Regions from separate parts of the Homo sapiens genome. Here region 2 is linked to region 1. Evidence: promoter capture Hi-C in human tissues and cell types (Jung and others, 2019). All regions are on one chromosome and are shown on one strand. The core of a region is centred on a gene start or on the middle of the fragment in contact, and the rest is flanking DNA. Distances in the headings are between cores, read along the strand shown. Region 1 holds the start of COLQ (collagen like tail subunit of asymmetric acetylcholinesterase). Region 2 overlaps HACL1 (2-hydroxyacyl-CoA lyase 1).

What was found. The method cuts DNA at HindIII sites, captures the fragments that hold promoters and counts their contacts. A contact is called where the count stands out against the background at its distance.
Region 2: a contact is called between a fragment that was not itself captured here and the fragment with the promoter of COLQ in region 1, in 1 of the 25 tissues and cell types used here (psoas muscle).

What each region holds. Positions count from the first base shown.
Region 1 is chr3:15,518,005-15,524,662 of GRCh38, reverse strand. It overlaps COLQ (collagen like tail subunit of asymmetric acetylcholinesterase), which reads left to right and starts at 2,957. Exons shown (of 17, transcript NM_005677.4): 1 at 2,957-3,143. The coding sequence starts at 3,038. The HindIII fragment of the contact is 5,771 bases long and covers 1-5,284 here.
Region 2 is chr3:15,563,575-15,570,232 of GRCh38, reverse strand. It overlaps HACL1 (2-hydroxyacyl-CoA lyase 1), which reads left to right. Exons shown (of 17, transcript NM_012260.4): 13 at 1,647-1,801; 14 at 2,231-2,389; 15 at 5,575-5,682. Among named protein-coding and RNA genes, the nearest start is that of HACL1, 35 kb to the left of the region's middle. The HindIII fragment of the contact is 3,486 bases long and covers 3,372-6,658 here.

The DNA.
Region 1 (6,658 bases), core at 1,708-4,207:
AACTTCTGGGTCAGACGGCATGTGCATTTTAAGTTTAATGGGGCCAAAAGATTGTTTTCCAGTGTACAGTCCTGCCTACAAGGTCTGAGAGGGAAGACTCTGACTTTGAATGGCTTTATTGGTGTGAGCTTTTCTCAAATCTCAAATAGTTTCCTTCTGGACAAATCTAATAGTCTATGTTATTAGATTCTGGAAACATCAGAGCCCTTCCAGGAGGATTTGAAGAAAGATGATAATTTCTGTCTTGGTCAGTTAGGGTAATCTTATAAGAAATAGGTTCATAAAATATAAGATACCTAAGGAAATGGAAATTTACTAAAAATTGTTTAATAAGTATTGGGGCCTTATAAATAACTCTGTGTTGGGGCCTCCTCAAAGGGTAGAGGCTCCTGTCGTAACTTTAGATCAGCAGTGACTCATTCTCCAGTGACTTGAATTATAAATTTAGCCTCTCTGTCTGCGGGTCCTAATTCAAGGTGGCCATCCATAGTCCCTCTCACACTCTCACCATACTCACCAAAGCCCTCCCTTGTATCAGGCGCAGGCCACCCAGCTGTATGTGCAGAGGCTCCAAGGGGTGCTGGGGAAATGCAAGTTGTGCAGAAAGCTGGAGCATAAAGTTATGCTACTTTTGTACGTTCTTCTTTTTTCATCCTACCCAGTGGTGTGATTTGATCAAAGTAACTTACATTGTTGAGGATCTGTTAGGTGACAAGGACTGTCCTGGGGGCCTTGAGAGTACATAGAGCTGTGGGATAGTCCCCTATCTTTAGGGATGTTAATGCCAGCTAAATAGCAACACAAGGTGGTGTTCAAAAACAATAGCAGCAGGTGTCACCGGTAGGACGTATTGACAGAATTTGTTCCAAGGGTATGGTCAGTGGTGAATTCTTTGTGCTGAGAGAAGGAAGAAGTCATACTGGCTTTGCAGAGGAGGAATCTGAGCTAGATAGTAAAAATTCATATTCTGACACCAAGTTACTCAAAAGATACCTTCCTCCCAGGTAGACTGTACCTTCTCCAAGCCACTGGAAGCTGGCTGCTGGGGCTCCAGGAGTTAACAAGAGTGAGCCTGAGAATGTCCTGATTGAGTTTGGCCAGCAATCACAGCTCCTTCTTGTAAAAATTTTGGGAGCAGCTAAATGGGGGTACCCTCTCTTTAATCTGTCCTATAAATTTTGAATGTAGTTCAGGTATATTTTTCATGCTTTCAAAAGCTTTCCTTATCAACTCTGTATCAGTTAGCTATTGCTGATGAGCAAGTCATCCTAAAACTTACTGGTTTGAAACAATAGCCGTTTTATTTGCTCATGACTTCGTAATCTGGGCTGGGCAGTTCTTTCGAGGGTCTCACTTGGGGTCACTCCTGTGGCTGGCATCATCTGAGACCAGGACAGGGCTAGATGTTCCAAAATGGCCTCACTCGCCTGTTGATGCTGCATCTGGGATAGTCAGAACAGCTGGAGGCTGGCTGCTTCCCCCTCCATGTGGCCTCTTCAATAGTCCAGACTTTTTAAAGTGGCAGCTGATTTTCAAGAAAAGGCAAAAGCAGGAGCTGCCAGGCCTTTTAAGGCCTAGGCCAGGAGATGGCACAGTGTCCCTTTAGCCACATTCTATTGGTCAAAGTAAGTCACAGAGCCACCTCAGATTTAAGGGAGGGGAACTAGCCCTGCTTTTTGCTGGGAAGAGTGTCATGCACACACTGGGTTGGGAGGACTTTTGGAGGCCATCTTTGCACCCAGGCTACCATGGCTCCCTTGGGTCTCCTTTGTGCTGTTCCTATGTGCAAGTTCTAATCCGTGTAGGATTCATCCCCATTACCTCACTTAACTTTCCAACAAACCTTTAAAGGGAACATTGTCTCCATTGTATGGATGAGAAAACTGAGGCTTAGAGAGGTGAGCTTGTCCACTGCCACTCAGAGCTGAGAGTCAAGCCCAAGTGTGGTGCTACAGCTGTAAAATATCACTTTATACCACGCCCTGACCCAACTCCACCTTCCCCATAATGAGCACAGGGGCAGGATGCCCACCCCAGCATCCAGTAACTAGCAGACTGTTTCTGAGTTAACTCCTATGAGGCATGTAATATGTAAATTAAAGCAAAATGAACAACTCTGTGAATTATTATTTTGTTTTAGTCATCTAATCATCTCTATAACAGGCTTTTATAAACTCATAAAAGGTATTAAGAATGTGATAATTTTTATTTGAATAATTTTGTCTAGCCAAAGATTAAGTTAGTGATGTTATTTTTCTGAATATAGTTTGATAAAAATCATTCACTTTTCTATACTTTTACTGTTTTCATTTATTTTGCCTTGCATTGAATCAAAAGGTTGCAGCTTTTGGAGAGAGAAACACTTTTTCACAGAGAAAGCTGTTTGGAAATATAAACTACTTCCTTCCTCCTTTTTATTGGATGATTAAAGAAAAAAATTAAAAGTTAACTTTACATTTGTTACACAATGGGTAAAAATGTCACAGGCTGACAGTGGAGGGGTTTTTCTCCATGAAATTCAGTTTGAATCAGGAGAGTTGTTTCTGCCCAGTTCCAAGGAGGTAGATGGTGGCACATAACCAATTAGGAATCTCTCTGCCCTTGAGGACTGCCTCCAGTGAACATCTGAGACTTGGCTGCCTTCTCATCACCTCTTCACTAGCCACTTACCTCAGTCTCCAAAAAAGAAAATTTTGACATCTTAATTTTAATGTGGGCATTTGATATGGAGCTTGAGATAAATATAACTCTCTGTAGCATGGAGACAGTTTAATGGGAAATGGTTGGCATTCTTTCTTGGTAAAGGCATGGGAGACAGGAGAGGTGGGGGAGGGAGAGAGAGGGAGGGGGTGAGGAGGAGGGAGAGGGAAAGAGAAAGAGGGAAAGACACACACACACACAGACACACACACACACGCACACACACACACACAAACACACGCGCACGCAAACAGCAGTGAGGAAGAGAAAAGCAGAGATAAGCAAGGCTCCGCAGCAGCCTCCTTTCTAACTTGACCCTCGCCAGACCCTGGCCAGCATGGTTGTCCTGAATCCAATGACTTTGGGAATTTATCTTCAGCTTTTCTTCCTCTCTATCGTGTCTCAGCCGACTTTCATCAACAGCGTTCTTCCAATCTCAGCAGGTAAATGATGGCCACAACTTTCCTCTCTTCCATCTGTCAGGGGACAGGGGGAGGAAGGAAGATTGTTTTGCAATGTGTCCTGATGTTTTTGCCATTCAACTGTTGGTGGAGGGAGGTTGGAAGGAAGACGGCCACCCCAGCAGCTTCCTGTCACCCGAGCTTGTCTCGGAAGCCCCTTCTGTCCTTGTTCCAACCGGCTCCTACCTGGCTGCTCAAAGCAGAGACACTTTGAAAAATGGTTTCTGCCTCCCCTATTCTCCCCATTTGCTGCATGATTTCATCTTGGTCAGGAATTTGGGAGAGCTTAAAAGAGACAGAGGTGTGCAAGTAATAGAGAAGTGAGTCTCAGATGTTTCTATAAATACATCTCTGACCTCTTCGAAGGGGGCTTGCCTCACAGGGGCTGTTGTGGAGTAAACAAACCTCTTTCCAGACCCAGATAGCATCCATGGCCACAATAGTCCCTCGAAGGGAAAATGCAGGTGGCAGGGGCCGGTGGGGTGGGGGGTGAACAGCGGCGGGGCAGTTGCAGCCTCAGGACTAGGTTTTCCCTTTCTCCAGACCTGTCTTCCTGGGTGCGACTTCCCTTCAGCCTCAGACAAGGCAGCTGGAGGTCCTGAGAGAAGTGAGCTTTCCAGGGAGAAGTGGAGGGGGTTCCACAGTGACAGCCAGGTCTGGAGCTGAGTGTGTCTGCCGGGTATGAGGCTGGGAGATTTGGGGAAGGGGCTGTGTCTGCCAGCCTGCAACCTTTTCTGAGGTCAGCAGCCTGTTGCCCTTGTCTTGTCTGACCCAGAGCAGGGGAAGTATTCGGTTACTAGTATGGCCTATTTAAACCTTTCTGAGGAAACTCAAATGTTTCCGGAGGGCTTGAAGGAGGCAGGCAGACCCTCACAGCCCCCCTCAATTCACCTCAGTGACCCCTGACTCTCCCCAGCAAAGTTTTAGTTATGCCTCCAACATGAGTCTCATAAATACTTCAACTGAGACAGAAATTTCACTATCGCTGCCTTTGCTGGAAACACAGGGAGGGCCAGAAATGCCAGGCTCTCAGAGAGGGCACATCTCTGAATCCAGCTCCCAACTGCTGTCCATTGATAAAAACAGCTCATCAGCAAGTTGTGTAGCCAACGTTTGTGGGCCATGAGGGAGTGACTCAGAGACTGGTGTGAGGCTAATTATAAAAGTGTGAGAAACAGAAGGAGGTGGGGGCAGATTTGTGGAGAATTCAGGAGGGTGGGCAGGAAAGGTGAGTGGTGGTGTCACCGTGGGTGTGTGCCCACATGCCCCTGCAAATTCAAGTTAAGAGCATCAAGCTTCTTCTAGGAGTGAGTAGTCATTATTCATTCCCCAGTTCAAGGGAGAAGCTTGAGAGTTAATTTGGCCTAATTTGGTGGTTCTTAATCATGTTTGGGTCATGGATTCCTTTGAGAATCTGCTGAAGGTTAGGACTTAAGGAAACTCAGTTTTCTGGTTCTAGCCCTGCCTCTGATGAGCTCCCTGACTTCTGAGAGACAGTGGCCTTACACTATAAGCACCATGTGGCCAGGGCATGTGTCTCTCTTGTACTTTACTGTTTTCCCAGGGTCAGAACAGTGCCTGGCACATAGTAATCAATAAATATTTGATGAATGAATGAATAAAAGCTTCTCATCTGCAAACTGGGGTTTACCATCATTTTGTATTACTTAATTTAAATAGCACCAAAGTGGTTAAGGAGTTCAGAAAACTAGAGAGAAAAGAACCTCTGGTTTTCTTTTGAACTCTTTGCCTTGGAGAGCACCCTGGCACAACATAGATATCTCTTAGGTAAGCTTTTTGCAGACTGTACCAATCAGGGCAACAGCAGGATAAAGAAGCAACTCAGGTGGTTCAGATGAAAAGATCTGAATGAAGGGATCACTTTGAGAGGTGTGGGCGGGGTTAAGGGAACCAACAAGGAATGCTGAGGCACCTAGAGATTAGCAACTGCAATATGCCTTTACCACCCTGTGCTTGAAAAGGCAAGAGGGGCAAATAGGAAAATGGATCCCAGGCAGATTTGGAGCCTTAGAGAAGGGGCCATTAAGCAAGAGCATTGGTCATGGAAGGCCCTAAAGCAGGGAGAAAGTGAAGGAGAAGTACACCATCTTCTCTCTCCTCCCATCCAAGCACCTTTTGGCAGCGCCTCTCATTGGCCAACCCAACTTGAAGCCAGAGGGCAGAGCCTGGAGGTCAGGGACTGGAACACTGAGGGCAGAGAGCCAAGGGGAGGGTTGGGATGGAGAACAACCAGTGCGCACATCCACAGGCACTTCTGGCTGGGAATGTGGTCATTAGACATTAGGGAAAACAATGGAATAGACCTAGCGGGAATCACTAAGGTAACCAGCTCAGTATCACAAAGATATGTTTTCTCCGGTGGTCACTTGGCTTTGCCCCCCTAATTTAGTCACCATGGCTTTATGATAGCACAGTTCAGAAATAAACTTAAGCTTTAAAAAAATGGAAGCTGTTCCTTGTAATCCTTTGGAAATATTTTCCAACAGTTTGATATAAAATATTCTATATTCAGAAGCTTATAGACTCTTAATTCTTCTGAAGATAGGCTGTGTATACACAGAAAATAAGGGCAACCAGGAAAATCTTTTCATTCTATGCATTATAACTTAGTGAGTGCCTACTGTGTGCCTGGCACTCTAATGTGTGCTTCAAGGGACACGGAGACAAGTAGGATGTGGCCTCTGCTCTGAGGGATTCCATGATCACCTGCTTTTGAAACACAGGTGGCGTGTGGTAAATGCCCCGGAAAGGGGTTGTGATGGAGGAAGAGCTCTCATGGGCCTGTAAGCCAGTACTTACCTTCATAGATAATCCACTCCTTCACTGTCTTCAAGAAAGACTATTCCAGCAGTGCCATGTGCAGCACCAGCTATCTGGATCAGAGGTTCATTACCTGGCAACCTCCTCTGCTGGGTCCCAGAGGAGAACCAGGAAGGAGCAAAAAACATCAGAGGCCAGAACTGATGATAGAAATGCCATCGCTAAAGCACATAATATTTGATACACACAAAACTATTTCAGGCCTTTATTCTAAGCCTATTAACTCTTACTTTGGGCACCACTCTAATAGACATAGATAGTCCGTGACTTGAAAGCTGGTGATTATATATAGCATATTAAATTGGGGAGGGAGGAGTTGCTGCTTAAGCTAGACACAATGACGGATGATAAGAATGATTACAAGAAAAACAATAAAGAATTAGGAAATGGGCCTGAGATTTCAAAAAGAATAGTAGGCCAGGCGCGGTGGCTCACGCCTGTAATCCCAGCACTTTGGGAGGCTGAGGTGGGTGGATCACCTGAGGTCAGGAGTTCGAGACCAGCCTGACCAACATGGAGAAAACCCTGTCTCTACTAAAAATACAAATTTATCTGGATGTGGTGGTGCATGCCTGTAATCCCAGCTACTCAGGAGGCTGAGGCGGGAGAATTGCTTGAACCTGGGAGGCGGAGGTAGCAGTGAGCTGAGATCGCGC
Region 2 (6,658 bases), core at 3,865-6,364, 43 kb before region 1:
CTCCCAAGTAGCTGGGACTACAGACGTGTGCCACCACGCCCAGCTAATTTTTGTATTTTTGGTAGAGATGGAGTTTCACCATGTTGGCCAGGATGGTCTTGATCTCTTGACCTCGTGATCCGCCCGCCTTGGCCTCCCAAAGTGCTGGGATTACAGGCATGAGCCACCGTGCCTGGCCTACATTAGAATTTTAATCAATGACTGTTTCTATCTGGAGCCAGTCTCAATTTTTTTTTTTTTTTGAGATGGAGTTTCACTCTTGTTGCCCAGGCTGGAGTGCAGTGGCGCGATCTCAGCTCACTGCAACCTCTGCCTTCCAGTTTCAAGCAATTCTCCTGCCTCAGCCTCCCGAGTAGCTGGGATTACAGGTAGCTGGCACCATGCCTGGCTACTTTTTTTTTTTTTCTTTTTTGAGATGGAGTCTTGCTTTTGTTGCCCAGGCTGGAGTGCAATGACACGAGCTTGGCTCACCGCAACCTCCGCCTCCTGGGTTCATGCAATTCTCCTGCCTCAGCATCCCGAGTAGCTGGATTACAGGCATGTGCCACCATGCCTGACTAATTTTGTATTTTTAATAGAGACAGAGCTTCTCCATGTTGGTCAGGCTGGTCTCGAACTCCCGACCTCAGGTGACCTGCCCACCTCGGCCTCCCAAAGTGCTGGGATTACAGGCGTGAGCCACCGCACCCAGCCAATTTTTGTATTTTTTTTAGTAGAGACAGGATTTCACCATGTTGGCCAGGATGATCTCGAACTCCTAACCTCGTGATCCGCCCGCCTTGGCCTCCCAAAGTGCTGGGATTACAGGCGTGAGCTACCATGCCTGGCCACCAGTCTCAATTTTATTTCCTGAGTCATATCATGACTAATCTTTTCTTTCGCATAGGAACGATGTTGGTTTAAGATAGAAGGGACTTGCTTCTCTTCTTTAGTGCAGGAGTATAGGAGGGTCCCTCTTTACCTTGTGTATAATCTCCAGCAGAACAAAGTAGCATAGGTGAAGAGGCAGTCCTGGGGCCAGATGGGACTGTTGCTGCTAAAGCTCTCTATGGCTTTTTCTCAGCCCTGAAAGGCATGTGGCTAGACAAAGGCGTTTACCTTGCTGTTTTTCTCTCCATTCAGGGACTCTTTAGAATAGTGGGGGTAAGATAGCTCCTTTAACTCTTAAGTGTGTTGGGGGAAAAACTAGATTTTCAGATTGTATTCTAAAATTGTGACATTTTAAGTTTAGGGTCATAGTTCAGATGAAAATATTCTGGAATAAATTTCACTTTTTCTAAGGCACCGTTTTCCTAAGAGTGCTCAAATAAGAACGTTTAGTTTTATGTAACCCAGTGCTTCTCAGCTGTCTTTACTGTAGGACTTCTCAATGTCTTTAATACACTCCTGTGCATTGCAGATCTCCAAGAGGCGGGATATTCCCGAGCTTATTTAATTGTGTTCCCAACTGGGACTGTGGTACACATGTCCCCCAGGGCTGTTCACAGGTCAGCCAACTTCTCAGAGTGGCCATTTTATAGCCATTTGGAAACCTTGTAGCTTGTAGTTGTTGCGTATTTCCAAATAAGTTTGATAGCATCTTATTAACATTGGTTATTTTCATTGTATCCCAATTTAATTTGATTATATTCCCATCTACTTTTCAGGAACTAGCTTCTAAAAAATCCCTGCCTATGAATTATTACACAGTATTCTACCATGTTCAAGAACAACTACCTAGAGACTGTTTCGTGGTAAGTGAAGGAGCAAATACTATGGACATTGGACGGACTGTGCTTCAGAACTACCTTCCTCGTCACAGGTAAGACTTCTAAAGAAGAAAGAAGTCGTAATTCATTATAATGTGTTTAATATGAAACTGTAATAGTGCAGATTAAGAAGACGTTTGAGAATTAATACATGTTTAGTATGTAAGGACATATTTCATAAAAGTATCCTTAGGTGAGGTTTTGTAGAGTTTTTATGCTTGATGTGTTCTTGGTATCATGATAATTGTTTACTTAGTATTCTAGGAATATGTTTATAGTCTTCCAAGCAAACATGGGTGGCTTTTTTCTATCCTTGACAAATTAGTTCCTAGCAGTCTAAAGATTTTATATTGAAGAAAGAGAATGTTTTTATGGTTCTTCATTTTTCCATCAACCATGTAAATATGACTAGAAGGTTTGTGCCAATCCCATCCTCTATGACATGCCCCAGAGGGTTTCATTTTAACTTTGTTCTCCAACAGGCTTGATGCTGGTACTTTCGGAACAATGGGAGTTGGTTTGGGATTTGCTATTGCAGCTGCCGTGGTGGCTAAAGATAGAAGCCCTGGGCAATGGATCATCTGTGTGGAAGGAGACAGTGCATTTGGGTTTTCTGGCATGGAGGTAGAAACCATCTGCAGGTAAAACATCATCCTGAATCAGAGCATTTGATTCTCTAGAATATGAAAAATGACACACAAGACCCAGTCACCTGACAAATACTTATGAAGCGTTCACCAGGTGCCCTGTGCACAGCACTGTGTTCTGTCCTGAGGATGCTAGTGGCAGTAACCCACGGTCTTTCTCTTCCAGAACCGTATCTTTCTGGCCTCCTCACTGTATGGTAAAAACCTGTAAAACTGTGGGGAGTGGTTTTGAGGTCACTGAGAAAAAAATGTTGGGGACTGAAAGAAGCTTGTTTCCTGTGGGAAATAGCAAGTGTGGTGGTTGAAGAGCATGGCTTCTGCCAGTCATGGTGGCTCACACCTGTAATCCCAGCCCTTTGGGAGGCCAAGGCAGGCAGATCACTTTAGGTCAGGAGTTCAAGACCAGCCTGGCCAAAATGGTGAAATCCCATCTCTACTAAATATACAAAAAAAAAAAAAAATTAGCCAGACGCAGTGATGCATGCCTGTAATCCCAGCTACTCGGGAGGCTGAAGCAGAAGAGTTGCTTGAACTGGGAAGTGGAGGTTGCAGTGAGCTGAAATCGCACCACTGCACTCTAGCCTGGGTGACAGAGCGAGACTCCATCTCAAAAAAAAAAAAAAAAAAAAAAGGCAGCATGGCTTGTGGGACAAATGGCCTGGATTTAAATACTGGTTCTATCAAGTCAGAGCCATGTGACTTTAAGTCACTTAACCAAGGCTGGGCGTGGTAGCTCATGCCCGTAATCCCAACACTTTGGGTGGCTGAGGTGGGCAGATCACCTGAGGTCAGGAGTTAGAGACCAGTCTGGCCAGCATGGTAAAACCCCATCTCTACTAAAAATACAAAAAATAGCCAGATGTGGTGGTGCATGCCTATAGTCCCAGCTATTTGGGAGGCTGAAGGCAGGAGAATCGCTTGAACCTGGGAGGTGTAGTTTGCAGTGAGCCAAGATCGCACCACTGCACTCTAGCCTGGGCGACAGAGCAAGACTCCATCGCAAAAAAAAAAAAAAAAAAAAAGTCACTTAACCAAGCCTCAGTCTCCTCTCTTCTAAAGCAGGAATAGTATCCTTTAGGCAGAAATTCCTTGAAAAAAAAAAAGTAGGAATAGTAATAGTTCCTACCTTAGAAAGATGATTATGAAAAACAAATGAGGTAATCCAAGCAGTTTTTTTTTTTCAAGATGGGGTCTTGCTTTGTCACCCAGACTGGAGTGGAATGGCGCAACTGCGGCTCACCGCAGCGTCAACCACCCAAGTTCAACGGATCCTGCCTCCTTAGCCTTCTGAGTAGCTGGGATCACAGGCATGCACCACCATGCCCAGCTAATTTTTTGTATTTTTTTGTAGAGACAGGGCTTTGCCATATTGGCCACACTGGTCTCAAATTTCTAAGCTCAAGCAATCCACCCGCCTTGGCCTCTCTAAGTGCTAGAATTACAGGTGTGAGCCACCATGCTTGGCCCCAGCTAAATTCTGAGGTGATGCTCAGTGAACATGAGTCATTTGGATCATGTGTGTAGTTATGAGAATTCATGGAGAAACTCATGAATTGTAGATCCTCACTATAGAAGGATGGGGGTTTTATTTTTCCAGCTATATTTAAACTGTAGTAAAACCATTCTATTCTTAGCCAGGGCTCTTATTAGGGCTTTTGTGAATCATGTTTTGGGGTTGGCAAAGCTTTGGTAGATAAAACGTTCAAGATTTGGGAAGGTATAGTTGTCCCTCTATATCAGTGGGGGATTGGTTCCAGGACCTTCCTCAAATACCAAAATCCAAGGATGCTCAAGTAAGTCCCTGATATAAAATTGTGCAGTATTTGCAAATAACCTATGCATACCCCCCATATATTTTTAATGATGTCTAGATTACTTTAAAATACTGAATACAATATGAATGCTATATAAATAATTGTTGTGCTGTATTGCTTAGGGAATAATGACAAGAACAAAGTCTGTGCATGTTGAGTACAGATCCAATTTTTTTTCCCAAATATTTTTGACCCGCAATTGGTTAAATCCACGGATGCAGAACTCAGATAATGAGGTCTGACTGTATGTGTCTGTTAGAGTGTCTTTATTGACAACCAAGTGATATACACAAAAAAGATGACTTATGGGGAAGTTAGCCTTTTAGTGGATAATGACTCCTTTTGAGCATGGAGAGCAAATAATTACCACAGTCCTGTTATTTAACAGTATGCAGTTTAGTTTTGTTTTTACCACTTGCCCTTGGAAATTATGTTAGAAAATAAAACCTACATTCTTTTCAGTCAATAACATTTAATCAACCTTTTCTTTTTTGTCTTTGCTATACTGTTTAGCACACTGTTAAATACTCCTTTTCTGTACTGACTACACCATGTAATGTGTTTCTGATTATGTGTGTGGTAGTTTGAGTGCAGATTGTGTGTGCTAGTTACTTGTGTATCTTCCACAGCATCTAGCAAGAGCTGGGTGTCTGTGGGGAGCTCAGTAAATAGAAAGGTACGTTTCAAACACTGTTCCTAGGAACCAACTAGAAGTGGTACTTTAGAGAGTATTAAATAGGGAAGGTGTTCTTCATATACCATCTAGACTTATGAAAACCCAGATTCAGAAAAGCTCAGTGATTTGTCTGAGGTTCATAGCTAATAGCTAAAGGACTATCAACTTTTTTTTTTTTTTTCTGAGATGGAGTCTTGCTCTGTTACCCAGGCTGGAGTGCAGTGGTGTGATCTCTGCTCACTGCAACCTCCGCCTCCCGGGTTCAAGCGATTCTTCTGCCTCAGCCTCCCGAGTAGCTGGGACTACAGGCACATGCCACCATGCACAGCTAATTTTTGTATTTTTAGTAGAGACGGGGTTTCACCATATTGGCCAGGCTTGTCTTGAACTCCTGACCTTGTGATCCGCCCACCTCAGCCTCCCAAAGTGCTGGGATTACAGGCATGAGCCATCATGCCCAGCCAGGACTAACAACTCTTAATCTTGCATTCTTTCTGCCTTTCCATGATGTTTCTGTTAATTATTTGATATTCTTTCTTAGGATAATAAATGCTTGATTTTTAGTCTTCCTCTAATAATACAAAAAGCTTATAGGAAACTATTCATTTTTAAGTTAAAGTTTCAACCCAAAGAAAAGAAATTACTTTAAAATGAAGAATGATTTCCTTCATATTTTACTCTCACTTTAGGTACAACTTGCCAATCATACTGTTGGTAGTGAATAACAATGGAATTTACCAAGGTTTTGATACAGATACTTGGAAAGAAATGTTAAAATTTCAAGATGCTACTGCAGTGTAAGTAACCAAGACCAATGTCTGTTTACTTTCTCTTTCCCGTTTTAATCTCTTTTTAAAAAGTCTTCTATATTGGCAGTAATGTGCCTACATGGTATGAGTATTGTCCGTTTCGATTGTCAGCCCTTCTAAAGAGAAGGAATCCTGTCTTAGTTCCTCTTTGCACAAATATCCATGATTAGGTGCTTCAGTAAATAATCAGGGAGCCACTGAAGACTCAGATAAATGAGTGTGATGTCTGAGCCTTGTTAATGAAAAGGCTTATTGCAAAATGCTCCCTGGACTGGGAGCAATAGTAGGACTACTGATTCCTGTTACACCATTTGGAAATGTGGATGTTTACGTATTATTTGTGTTCCAGAGGTCTACCTTCCTTTCACCACTTAGCTAAATCTTGATCATCTGATGGCAGAGCCAGATTAAGACAGTATTGTAGCTGGCCGTAGAATGTGAGACAGATATGAATTTGTGAGCCAGCCTTGGGGTGGAACAGGGTATGGGTGTGTCTATTTATGCCTCACTAACTTTATTTGTTGTTTTCTTATTATTTGTTGTTTTGCAGTAATCTTTTTTTTTCATGTTTTTCTTCTGGATTCATAATAGTTGATAATGTAGCCTGTGCTGTCTAGTATAGTAGCCACTAGGCATGCTGCAACTGTTGCAAATTAGATTTAAATTACTTCAAATTAAATGAAATTAAAAATTTAGTTCCTCAGTTTAGTCACATTTCAAGTGCTCACAGCAACAGGTAGATAGTGGCTACTGTCTTGGATGGCACAGGTTTAAAACATTTCTATCATCACAGAAAGTTCTACTGGACATTGCTATATAGACAATTATAAATATAGGAAAAACTCAGTGTACTGGCATCTCAGCTTAAGTGTTGAAGATAAAAGTATGCCTTTGAGTTCAGCTGAAATTTTTTTAATGAAGTATTTCAGAGAATGACTTTTTTTCTACAAGGTTTAAGATTTAA